3 separate regions of the Homo sapiens genome follow, and all the other regions are linked to region 2. The links are contacts of gene promoters, found by promoter capture Hi-C in human tissues and cell types (Jung and others, 2019). All regions are on one chromosome and are shown on one strand. The core of a region is centred on a gene start or on the middle of the fragment in contact, and the rest is flanking DNA. Distances in the headings are between cores, read along the strand shown.

Region 1 (4,137 bases), core at 1,405-3,904, 45 kb after region 2:
TATTCTCCTGCCTCAGCCTCCCGAGTAGCTGGGACTATAGGCGCCTGCCACCACGCCTGGCTAATTTTTTGTATTTTTAGTAGAGACGGGGTTTCACCGTGTTAGCCAGGGTGGTCTCGATCTCCTGACCTCGTGATCCACCCACCTCGGCCTCCTAACGTGCTGGGATTACAGGCGTGAGCCACCGCGCCCAGCCGCTAGCTGTATTTTTTAACATTTGTGAAATGTACGTAGAGAATATACATTTTACAAATTTAAATTATGAAATTTAAATACATACAATTTGAATAATAATAATGAAGTGAATATTCATCTACCCAGTACTCTGGTTAAGAAATAGAATATTGCCAGTATCCTTATTTTTATTACATTCTTTTGTGATTGCATCCTATCTTCCCCTGCCCTCGAGATAGAATCCTGATTTTGTGATAAATCAGTTGTTTGTATTACTAGTTTTTACAGTTATGTATGTATCACTAAAGAATGCATTATTTAGTTTTCCTTGTTTTTGAATTTTTATATAAAAAAAGATACCATGTACTCGCCTCTGATATACTTATTTTGCTCAACATTATATTTGTTTTAGATTTGTCTGTGTTGATGCGTGTGTTGTTTACTCATTCAGTGTGATGTATATATTTAATAGTATTCCATCGTACCTCATTTTGTGCTTTGCTTTATTGTACTTCACAGATACTGCATTTTTTTTTACAGATTGAAGGTTTGTGGCAACTTCGTGTTGAGCAAGTCTGTTGGTGCCATTTTTCCAGCAGCATGTGCTCATTTTGTGTCACTGTTTCAAATATTGATAATTCTTGCAATATTTCAAACCTTTTTGTTATTAGTTTATCTGTTATGGTGACCTGTGATCAGTGGTCTTTGATGTTACTATTGGAATTCTTTTGGGGCACCACGAACTGTACCCATATAAGATGAGGAACTTAATTGATAAATGTTTTGTGTGGTCTGTCTGATCATTTGACCCCTTTCCTGTCTCTCTGTCTCCTCCTGCCTCACTATATCCTGAGACAAAACAATATTGAAATTAGACCAATTAGTAACCCTCTAATGGCCTCTAAGTTTTCAAATGAAGGGAAGAATCACAGGTTTCTCACTTTACATCAAAAACTAGAAATGATTAAGCTTAGTGAGGAAGGCGTGTTGAAAGCTGAGATAGGTTGAGAGCCAGACCACCTGTGCACAAGAGCCAACTTGTGCATGCAGAGGAAAAGCTCTCGAAGGAAATTAAAAGTGCTATTTCAGTGAACATGGCAACTGATAAAGCGAAACAGCCTTATCGCTGATATGAAGAAAGTTTTAGTGTCTGGACAGAAGATCAAACCAGCCATAACATTCCCTTATGCTGAAGTCGAATCCACAGCAAGGCCTTAACTCTCTTCAATTCTGTGACGGCCAAGAAAGGTGAAGAAGCTGCAGACGAAAAGTTGTAAGCTAACAGAGGTTGATTCTTGAGGTTTAAGGAAAAAAGCCCTCCCCATAACACAGAAGTGCAAGGTGAAGCAGCATGTGCTGATGTAGAAGCTGCTAAGATAATTGATGCAGGTGGCTACACTAAACAGATTTTCAGTGTGGATGAAACAGCTTTCTGTTGGAAGAAGATGCCATCTAGGACTTTCATAACCTGAGAGGAGAAGTCAGTGCCTGGCTTCAAAGGACAGTCTGACTCTCTTGTTAGGGGCTAATGCAGCTGGTGACTTAAAGTTGAAGCCCGTGCTCATTTACCATTCCAAAAATCTTAGGGCCCTTAAGAATTATGCCAAGTCTGCTCTGCCTGGGCTCTATAAATGGAGTAACAAAGACTGGATGCCAGCACACCTGTTTATAGCATGGTTTACTGAATGTGTTAAGCCCACTGTTGAGACGTATTGCTCAGAAAAAAGATTCCTTTCAAAATATTACCGCTCATTGACAGTGCACCTGGTCATCTAAGAGCTCTGAGGGAGATGTACAGGAGATGAATGTTGTTTTCATGCCTGCTGACACATCTGTTCTGCAGCCTGTGAAGGAGTAATTTTGACTTTAAAGTCTTACTATGAAATACATTACTTAACTGGAGCTGCCATAGATAGTGATTCCTCTGAGAGATCTGGCAAAGTCCACTGAAAACCTTCTGGGCTGGGCGTGGCAGCTCACACCTGTAATCCTAGCACTTTGGGAGGCCGAGGCAGGTGGATCATGAGGTCAGGAGATCGAGACCATCCTGGCTAACACGGTGAAACCCTGTGTCTACTAAAAGTACAAAAAATTAGCCGGGCGTGGTGGCGGGTGCCTGTAGTTCCAGCTACTCGGGAGGCTGAGGCAGGAGACTGGCGTGAACCCAGGAGGCGGAGCTTGCAGTGAGCCGAGATTACGCCACTGCACTCCAGCCTGGGCGACAGAGGGAGACTCCATCTCAAAAAAAAAAAGAAACCTTCTGGAAAGGATTCACCTTTCTAGATGCCATTAAGAATATTCATGATCCATGGGAGGAGGACAAAATATCAACATAAACAGGAATTTGGAAGAAGTTGATTCCAACCCTCATGGGTGACTTTGAGGGGCTCAAAACTTCAGTGGAGGAAGTCACTGCAGATGTGGTGGAAATAGCAGGAGAATTAGAATTAGAAGTAGAGCCTGAAGATGTGACTAAATTGCCAAGATCTTATGATTAAACCTGAACAGAATTGCCAAACTTGAACAGAATTGCCAAAATCTTATGATCAAACTTGAAGAGTTGCTTCTTCTGGATGAGCAAAGAAAGTGGGAACATACAGAAAACAAATATTAAATGGCAGATTTAAATCCCACTAGGCCACTAATTAAATACAATGGTCTAACACAAATAACAGAGACTAGCGGAAGAGATTAGAAAATACAGCCCAACTATATATGTTGGTTATAAGAAGTGTTCTTCAAATATAATGACATGGGTAAGTTAAAGGATGGAAAGAAGATATATTATGCAAACAGTAATCAGAAGATAGCTGGAGTCTCTATAAAGTGGGAAAAAAAAATGACCAGGAACAAAGAGAGACTTTAAAGGGCCAAATCACCAAGAAGGCACCCTTGAGTATTTTATAAATGTCAGTTCATTCCATTTGGTTGATAATGTTGTTCATGTCCTCTCCATCCTTGGCAATTTCTTTTCTCTTCTTTTTTTTTGATACAGTATCTCTCTCTGTTACTCAGGCTGGAGTGCAGTGGTGGGATCACAGCTCACTGCACCCATGACCTCCTGACTCAAGCGATCCTCCCACCTCAGCCTCCCAAAGTGCTGGGATATTACAGACATGAGCCACCACATCAAGCCTGGCAAACTTTTTATGTAGGAGTTCAGACAAGTATCTTAGCCTCTATGGGCCACATGCAGTCTCTGTTACATATTTGTCTTCTGTTTTTTTTTTCCTTAACCATTTAAGTACGTAAAACCTATTCTTAGCTCACAGACTGTACAAAAACAGGATACGAGCCAGATTTGGTCATGGAACATGGTTTGCTGACCAAGGATCTAAATAGATGCAGAGAAATCATTTGATAAAATAAAATATCCATGATTAAAAAAAATCCTCAGCATCTAGAAATAGAAGGGGACTTCCTCAAATAGACGAGGGACATTCAAAATTTTCACTGTGCCTCCTGATGAGGAGGAAGGGATGGCCATGACTTTTTTCTTGGTGTTTGCAAAGAGTAGGGCAGATATAGTGAAAAGTTTCTGTCCTGGTCAGTCATTCTTTTCCCAACACTTTGGCTGGAAAGAGTAAGATTTTCTTAGGGCGTGTTTTGTCTGTGAACGTTGGCATGTCTGTGTTATAGGCACTTTGAAAGCCTAAGGCCTGGTTACGTAAGGAATCAAACCAGAAACCTAGGGAATTCATCATTAGGTCATTCCTGGGTCTCAGGTTACTAGCCAGTTTGTCTTCTTTTCTTCACTTTTTCAGAATCTTCTGTTAGTTGCATTATAAATTTTATTCAGTTTTTTTTTCTTTTTGGTGATTAATGAGGGAATAGCATGGTATGTGCTTATTCCATCTTTTCGTAAATTAGGGGTTTGAGATAGCTTTTAAAAAATTATGCATAATTAGTTCTCACTGTTATTTTTGTTTTTTAAGCCTAAGGATTTTATTGGGGCAACTTCTG
Region 2 (3,839 bases), core at 1,340-3,839:
TCAGAGAGCCACCGCTTGCCTCATTTTGCTGCTCAATGGCACCCCCATCAGAGACTGAGCAGAAAGGAAAGACTGGAAAGCCTCGAAATGCTCCTGGTTTGGCAGTTCCAGTTCTGTGTGTGCATGTCTTTGTGAGACGTGTAGTGTGTATGTGTGTTGGGGGGCAGAGGGGATTTCCTGGGTTAAAGTGATGCTTAAATTTTATTTACCCATTCTTCTATACTGCTAACAGTGTAGAATCTACACACATATTCTCATTGTCTCTCTCTCTGTCTCCCCTGTGTGGTCAGCAAAGCACTCAGACCCACAATGTGTAATAGGAAAATCTTAAAATTAGATGAAGAGTCTAATTTCCATGTTTAATTTCTTCATACAGCACTCCTTTGTGCTGTAATTCTGCCAGTGAGAATCCCATTCTTTAAGCTTTTCACAAGGTGAGATGTAAAACTGTCACACATCTCATAGGTAAAGTTCAAAACCAAAAGCAAAAAGTGCAAGAACGATTGGTGAAACTTTTCATTCTTCCAGCTGGGTGGATTTTAAAAGGCCTTTTTATGATTGTCTGATTAAAGTTGATTGTCAGCTACAAAAATTTGTTATTACAGCCTTTTAAAATTTTAGAAAAACAAAAGCACTCCAATTTTTAAGTATTTAACACAAAACTATTGTTCCCATTACTTTCTCCATAGTTCTCACCACATTCACTACCTCCAAGACTATTCACGGCCAGTCCTCACTAGTAGCAACAAATAACAGATTTGCAGCAGATTATGAAAAATGGGGCTGGCAGAAATGCTGAGGAATTTTTGAAGGTTTGGTGGAGGGAGGGGCAGTGGAGAACAGAACTGCTTTAGTTCTTTGCCTGGCTCTTAAAGTTTGTTTCAAATTGCTATGTTGCCCCAAATTATAAATTGCTTATGTAATTTAACGTGCAAAAAGTGGGTGCACTGTTTAAGAATTTTTCATTTGAGTAAATGAGCTTTCAAAGGAAAATCTCAAAGGAAAAACTTTTAAGTAACTTACTTGACTATAAACTGAGCTTTCCAGGTATTCCTAAAAAACATCTTTGACTGTAATAGGTGAAGGCTAGTCAAGTGCATTCTCGATCAAAAGAGAGAAAATCTACATGCTGAATGGAAATAGAAACCTTTTAGCTGAGAGAAAATACTTGGAATGTGTTTATTTAGCATTTTTCCCCTTTCTTTTTCTTTTGGGTAAAGCCTGGTAAGTTTATTCCAGCCTCCTCAAGAAGTGCATCAGCGATCAAACTTGAAATCTGTTCATCACTCACTCCCCAAATAAGCTGTTCAAGCAGAATGAAACCGGCCTTCCTTGCCTCCACGTATCAGTCCAGCATCTTGTATTAAAATGCCTGGAACAAGCCGGGCGCGGTGGCTCACGACTGTAATCCCAGAACTTTGGGAGGCCAAGGAGAGCAGATCACGAGGTCAAGAGATCGAGACCATCCTGGCCAACATGGTGAAACCCCGTCTCTACTAAAAATACAAAAATTAGCCGGACGTGGTAGCGCGCGTCTATAGTCTCAGCTACTCGGGAGGCTGAGGCAGGAGAATCGCTTGAACCCGGGAGGCGGAGCCTGCAGTGAGCCGAGATCGCGCCGCGGCACTCCAGCCTGGGCGACAGGGCGAGACTCGGTCTCAAATTAAAAAAAAAAAAGCCTGTAACAACACTTCGCTGAATCCAGATAAACGTAAACGCTGCCGAGCACTGTAAGTTCTGTTCTGCCATAACAGGAGTGAAAAGAACGCTCCCCTTTTCCCACACTCTCTGGGTGCCCCTAAAAAGGGATACTAATAATGCCCGTAAGGGCCCATTGGGAGCAGCCAGGACTGCCGTCCCCCCCTGGCCCGTCGCTCGGCCTCAGTCTATCGCGGCTCCCGGACTGCGGCTCCGACTCCCGCAGCCCGTTCGTTCGCCCCGCGCCGGTCCCTCGGGAGACCGGATCTGTGGCCCCCGGGACTCCGGCCAGAGCGGGGCCCCACCATGCAACTCTAGTGGAAAGTTCTCGTCGCATCCCAGACCAGACCTGCTACCTACGTTCCACTCGTCGGAACTTCAGGACTTGCAGCGCGCCCGGCCGAGCTCGATTTCCTCCTCTGCGGTGAAGAGGGGAGCCTGCAACGCCGACCCCGACCCGGCTTCACCACGATGCGCACCCGCAAGCCAGGCTGGGTGCCCTCGGGACGCTTGAGGCGCCGCGGTCAGTGGACGGTAGGTTCGCCTACGCCCCCTCCTCTGGCACCGCAGTGGGTGGAGGGTGTTTGCAAACTTGTCCAGCAGCCAGGCGCGCCCCTGTGGACGCGCTCCCTCCCCAGAGGCCCCTGCTTCCTCCTGGGAGCCCCCACCCCCTCGCCTGGCCCCCAGCCGGGCGCACTCACCTCTACGCCAGAGCGCGGGGAGGAAGAGGCCCAGCAGCAGCGGCAGCGGGGCCGGCCCCATCCCGGGGCTGCGGATCTGTAATTTCTCTCCGGACGGATGGACAGATGGACGTCCCGAACCTGTCCTGTCGCCGGCCAAGCGCGCCAGCGAAGCTCCCTGTCCGGGCGGCCCGGGCAGTGAGTGCCGAGTGGCGGAGCCAAGCGGCCGGCGGGAGGTGCCGAGGGCTGGAAGGGGCGGGCCGGGGGCCGAGCCGAGGCCGGCCGGGGCTGGAGGAGAGGAGCGGGCAGGGGGGCGAGTCCCGGCGGGCCCAGCAGGTTGGGGTGGGAGGGGGCGGGAGGACGAGGGGGAGGAGGGGCGTAAAGGGGAAAGGGAGGGGGTTGGAGAGAAGGGGCGGGCCGAAGGCCGCCGCTGGGCAGACGGCGGGGAAGGGGGCGGAGAGGAAGGGGAGGGGGCTGAGAGACCCGGAGGGAGCCGGAAAGAGAAGTGAAGGGGAGGGGTGGACTGGAGGTCCACAGCGGAAGGCTCTGGCCGCTGCGCGGGTCCGGGGCCCCACACGTGTGGGTGGGAGATGGGGAAGGACAGAAGGTGGGAGAGGAGTAGAGGATGCCCGAGGCAGCCCCCAGACCCAAGAGGAGGGTCCAGAGGCGCCCCCGCATTCCGGGCTTGGCTGACACAGAAAACCCTGGCCGCGCCGCTCCCAGAGGCCAAGGCCAGGGCGGCAGCGCTCCCTGCCGAGCGCTCCTCCACATCCATTCCGCTCGCCGCCGAGCGCCGCCTGGGTACCCGGCCCGAGGTGCGCGACACGGCCCTGGCGGCGAGGAGCTCACCTCCCCAGGGGGAGGGGTTCCTGGGAAAGGACGCTTTGCCGTGGCTCCGTGACGAGCCAGAGAGAGGTGACACTCAAGGAGGGAGATGAACGTGAATGACAAAGTGCAGAGCAGGAGTGGGGAGAGGGGGAACCACAGCACGTCACTCTCATGGGCCTCCACAAGGTGTGCAGGGTCCAAGAGGCAGTAGCAGAGAGTGAGTCGTAAGAGAAATGTAACTACTTACGCTAATAATGGCAACAGTAACTTAATTTATATACGTAGTTTCTTAAAGGTAACACTTTTAGAATGAATGTATTTTAATGTGGTCCCTTTAACAACATAACATAAGCCAAATCATGTCCCTCTCCTCAAATCTCCCTAAACCTATCAGTGGTTCCTGCTGTCTCTGCGTACGTAAGCCAAGGTTCTGCAGTGGTCTACGAGGTTCTACGTGACCTGGTCCCCTTTCCTCTTTGGCCTCATCTCCTTACGCCTCTTCAATTTACGTTGGTCTCGTCAAGCGGTCCCTTGACCCCTACACTGGCTGGACACTTCCCGTAGATTTGGCTACGGGAAGGAGACAGGCAGCCCAGATGGGTTTAGACAGGTTATTACTTACACCGACAGCAA
Region 3 (3,919 bases), core at 580-3,079, 46 kb before region 2:
CAGAAGGCAGGCCACAGGCAGTTCTTACATCAGGTGTTGCTCAAACTCCTGGGACTGACTAGTTGGCAGGTTTTCAGTATTTCTTACCAAAATAAACGCAGAGTAAAACAAAGCTATGTAATAGATCTGTCCATGGTACGAAGACATTCTATTATGTGTGTGACTTTCAGATGGGTCATAAGGAATTTTAAAATCCACAGCCTTGTATAAGGCTGAGTGCTTTTCAAAGCAAATTCTCATGAAAACTGTATAAACACAGTTGCAGTTACAATCCTTAAATCTACCGTACTTTCCAAAATCAAGGTCCCAAGGAAGCTCAGAGAAAGCCAGTCAGTACTCATTTGGGGCAGGTGTTCAAAAATATAACGAGTCCAGCTAATTGTGTTCTTTTGGGGATTGGGAACTCACAGATCTGGTTCCAGCAGGAATGACGTGGCAGTTATGTGAAATGGAATTCTTTTATCCTGTTTCAAGGTTTTTTTGAAACTCTGTTTGGACTTAATATGTTCCTGCTCTGGGCATTTTTCTGGGATTCTGACAAATAAAATCTCCTGTAAATATTTTTTTCCCAAATTAGCTGCAAATGTAGGAAACCCCCTCTTTGGCTGATGTTGACGTAACCCTGAGAAAGAGCTGTCCAGCCTGGGATGGGCCTAGAGCAAAGGTCATGAAGAGACTCCTCTGAGGGAGTCTCTTCCCCCTCCCCTCTGTCTTCCCCACTCACTCCTCCTCCTTCCATCTGTGCTCCCTGAGGCTTCCCTCCACATTGGTGGGCATCAATTTCAGGTTCACAAAAGAATGGGTAGCATAGCAGACTTTCAGTGGGAGATGTTTCTGACTGAAAAGCTAATCACCTGCTCTAAAGCCTGTGACAAGGAAGGTCAGGATAAAGTAGAAAAGGGAGGTGACCTAATGGCTCTGCTAAGAGGGGCACCTCAGAGAGGAGGGGCACAAGGCCCCCAGAGGGAAGCCCCCAGGGGTAGTGAGGAGTGACCTCTGAGGGTGATAATAAAGATGCTTCCTCCTTGCAGCACTGCCATTGCAGAACCAGGCATGCAAACCCCCAAATCAGGGCACCAAACCAGGACCTGGGCTCACCTGGCCTGGTTCACCTGTGCATCAGCTCACATTGCCCATTAGAGTTCAAGTTCCCTGAGGGCAGAGATTGCCTTTTCCTAGCCTGATGTCTCACTCTTCATCCCCATGGACCTTCATATGATGTCATGGAATTTCTCTGAACCATGCACCTGACAGATACCAGTGCCCAAAAGAAGTCTCAGGCTGAGCTGTTGAGCCAGTCGAGGAAAACCACTCACCCTCCAGGGTTTCACTGTCTGCATAGGCAAGACAGGAAAAGATGCTGAATAATAAGCCAACAGCCACTTGACCAGGTGAGTGGTATCTGGTACCAGTACTGGAAACTGGATAGTAGAAAGCATTTTGCTTCTTAAAAAGAAGTCTTCAGCTTATTTTTATTGTCAATAATCTGTGGACAAGGAAGTCCAAAATCTCTTTTTATCTCACCTGTAATGCCTATAATAGAGCTCAAACTTCAGGAATTGAATTCATTTCATTATTACTTATAGACTACAAAGTGGAGTACCTTGTAAAATTTCAGTGCTGATAGATTTGCAAGGTTTGCATACAGAGTTATAAATAGGCAGGCAAAACTCTAGAGTATTATACACAAAACATTTAACACAGGCCCTAAAACAAACAGTTCTCTGGCAATGGGACTCTGGTCTGTGGACTTACCTTGTACTTCGATGTAGATGGGATCAGACACGATCTCTTCATTGTTTATTTTCATCTTACAGATATACGACCCATTGTCTGAACGCTGCACACTGGTTATGCTGCAAAGAAAAACACATGAAGATATTTACAGTGACTACCCTTTGAGTTCCTATTATAGGATGGAAACTTCTTCAACTTCTTTGTCATATGCTGTGATAGTTAATTTTATATGTCAGCTTGGCTAGGCCATTGTACGCAGTTGTTTGGTCAAACCCTAGCCTAGATGTTGCTGTGAAGGTACTTTTCACATGTCACTAGCATTTAAAGCAGCAGCCTTTGAGTAAAGCACATTACTCTTCATGATGGGGGCAGGCCCCATCCAAACAGTTGAAGGCCTTATAAGAAAAAGACAGAGGTCCCCAGGGAAAGAGGGGCTTCTGTTTCCAAACTGCCTGAGGACTCAAGACTGCAACATCAAGTCTTTCATGGGTCTCCACCCAACACCCTGTTGATTCCATATTTGTCAGCCCCCACTGTGTGTGAGCTAATTCCTTAAAACAGAGGAATTATTTTAAGGAATTCATAATTTAGGAATTAATAAATAATTTAGGAGTTAATTTAAGGAACTAAGGAAAATTCCTTAAAATAATTCCTCTTTCTCTCTCTTTCTAGATAAAGCTGTAGACACAGATCCTATAGGTTCGGTTTCTTGGAAAAACCCTGACTAATATATGTGCTATCACTTGTCTTGATTTTTTTTTTTTTTTTTTTTTTTGAGACAGATTCTGTCTCACTCTGTAGCCCAGGCTGGAGTACAATGGCATGATCTCAGCTCACTGCAACATCTGCCTCCTGGGTTCAAGTGATTGTCCTGCCTCAGCCTCCTGAGTAGCTGGGATTACAGGCATGCGCCACCATGCCCGATTAATTTTTGCATTTTTTAGTAGAGACAGGGATTTGCCATGTTGGCCAGGCTGGTCTCGAACTTCTGACCTTAGGGGATCCACCCACCTTGGCCTCCCAAAGTGCTAGGATTATGGGCATGAGCCACCATGCCCGGCCACCTGTCTTGATTTCTATGGTAGACTCTGCACCAGTGGTTCTCTGCATTGGGGTACTGCCCCCTCAAGGCATTTTGGAAATTTGTGGAGTTGTTTTTGGTGGTCACAATGACTAGGGGGGCTCCATGGGTTTTTAGGGGCCAAGGGCAACTGTTCCATATCCCAAATGACCTCCTGAGACTAGACCCTAATTCCATTTAACATACTTGTATGGTTTCAATATTCACCTAATTTACCAGGACTGCAATGACTATAAAAATGGAGAGCTGGTAGCCTTTGTCCTGTTTAGAACTTTCTGGGGCCCTAGCCATCATTTTGTAAGGTCTCTCACTGACAGCATGACTGTATTTGCAGCAGTCACAGGTCAAGTGCTTGAAGGTGCACCTAAGGTGCAAGTCCCTGGGTACTTAATGATCTCTCCTGGGGTGGACATGCCCGGTGTTTACATGTTGAAATGCACATTTTATTTTATTTTATTTTAGATGGGGTCTCGCTCTGTCACCCAAGCTGGAGTGCAGTTGCACCATCATGGCTCACTGCAGCCTTGAACTCCTGGGCTCAAGCCATCTTCCCACCTCAGCCTCCCAAAGTGCTAGGATTACAGCCATGAGCCACCGTTCTCAGCCGGGGAACATTTTTAAATACTTTCAGATGCTCTCCAGAGGATTTCTTTATTGGCTCAAAGACACTCCTCTTTAAACACAGCAAAGAAGACCATGACCAGGGGAACGAAGAAAAAGAAGAAAAACATGGAAGTTCCACCTTCCTTCCTAGAAGCTTGCTTCCCTGTATAACCTATTTATTTCTAAACAAAATAAATCTCATCCCTCAACCTGTGAAGGGCTGAGGCTTAAGGCTTAAAAGAAACCAGGAAGCTGTCAAGGGTAGAGGGGGCTCCATCCTGAACCATGGCCTGATAGGCAGGGGTGGCAGCTGCCAGAGGATAGCACAGCCTGGTTAGCATCTGGAGCAGACATGTGGTAGTGAGTGAGGTCCCCAGGTCTGAATGAGACAGAGTTTCCTTAGGTTGAATTCAGTTTTCTGAACACTAAACATTTTAAATTTACTTCTTCCCAACAATACCATTTTGCAGATCCTCATTGGCCTGTGATAAATAGAGC

What was found. The method cuts DNA at HindIII sites, captures the fragments that hold promoters and counts their contacts. A contact is called where the count stands out against the background at its distance.
Region 1: a contact is called between a fragment that was not itself captured here and the fragment with the promoter of MERTK in region 2, in 1 of the 25 tissues and cell types used here (bladder).
Region 3: a contact is called between a fragment that was not itself captured here and the fragment with the promoter of MERTK in region 2, in 1 of the 25 tissues and cell types used here (dorsolateral prefrontal cortex).

The regions. Positions count from the first base shown.
Region 1 is chr2:111,852,013-111,856,149 of GRCh38, reverse strand. All of the region lies in intron 13 of ANAPC1 (anaphase promoting complex subunit 1), which reads left to right. Among named protein-coding and RNA genes, the nearest start is that of ANAPC1, 30 kb to the left of the region's middle. The HindIII fragment of the contact is 4,477 bases long and covers 416-4,137 here.
Region 2 is chr2:111,897,357-111,901,195 of GRCh38, reverse strand. MERTK (MER proto-oncogene, tyrosine kinase) reads right to left here and starts at 2,589. Exons shown (of 19, transcript NM_006343.3): 1 at 2,400-2,589. The coding sequence starts at 2,460. RefSeq lists an enhancer at 3,121-3,450. The HindIII fragment of the contact is 10,682 bases long and covers 1-3,839 here.
Region 3 is chr2:111,942,897-111,946,815 of GRCh38, reverse strand. It overlaps MERTK (MER proto-oncogene, tyrosine kinase), which reads right to left. Exons shown (of 19, transcript NM_006343.3): 3 at 1,756-1,856. Among named protein-coding and RNA genes, the nearest start is that of MERTK, 46 kb to the right of the region's middle. The HindIII fragment of the contact is 5,421 bases long and covers 1-3,919 here.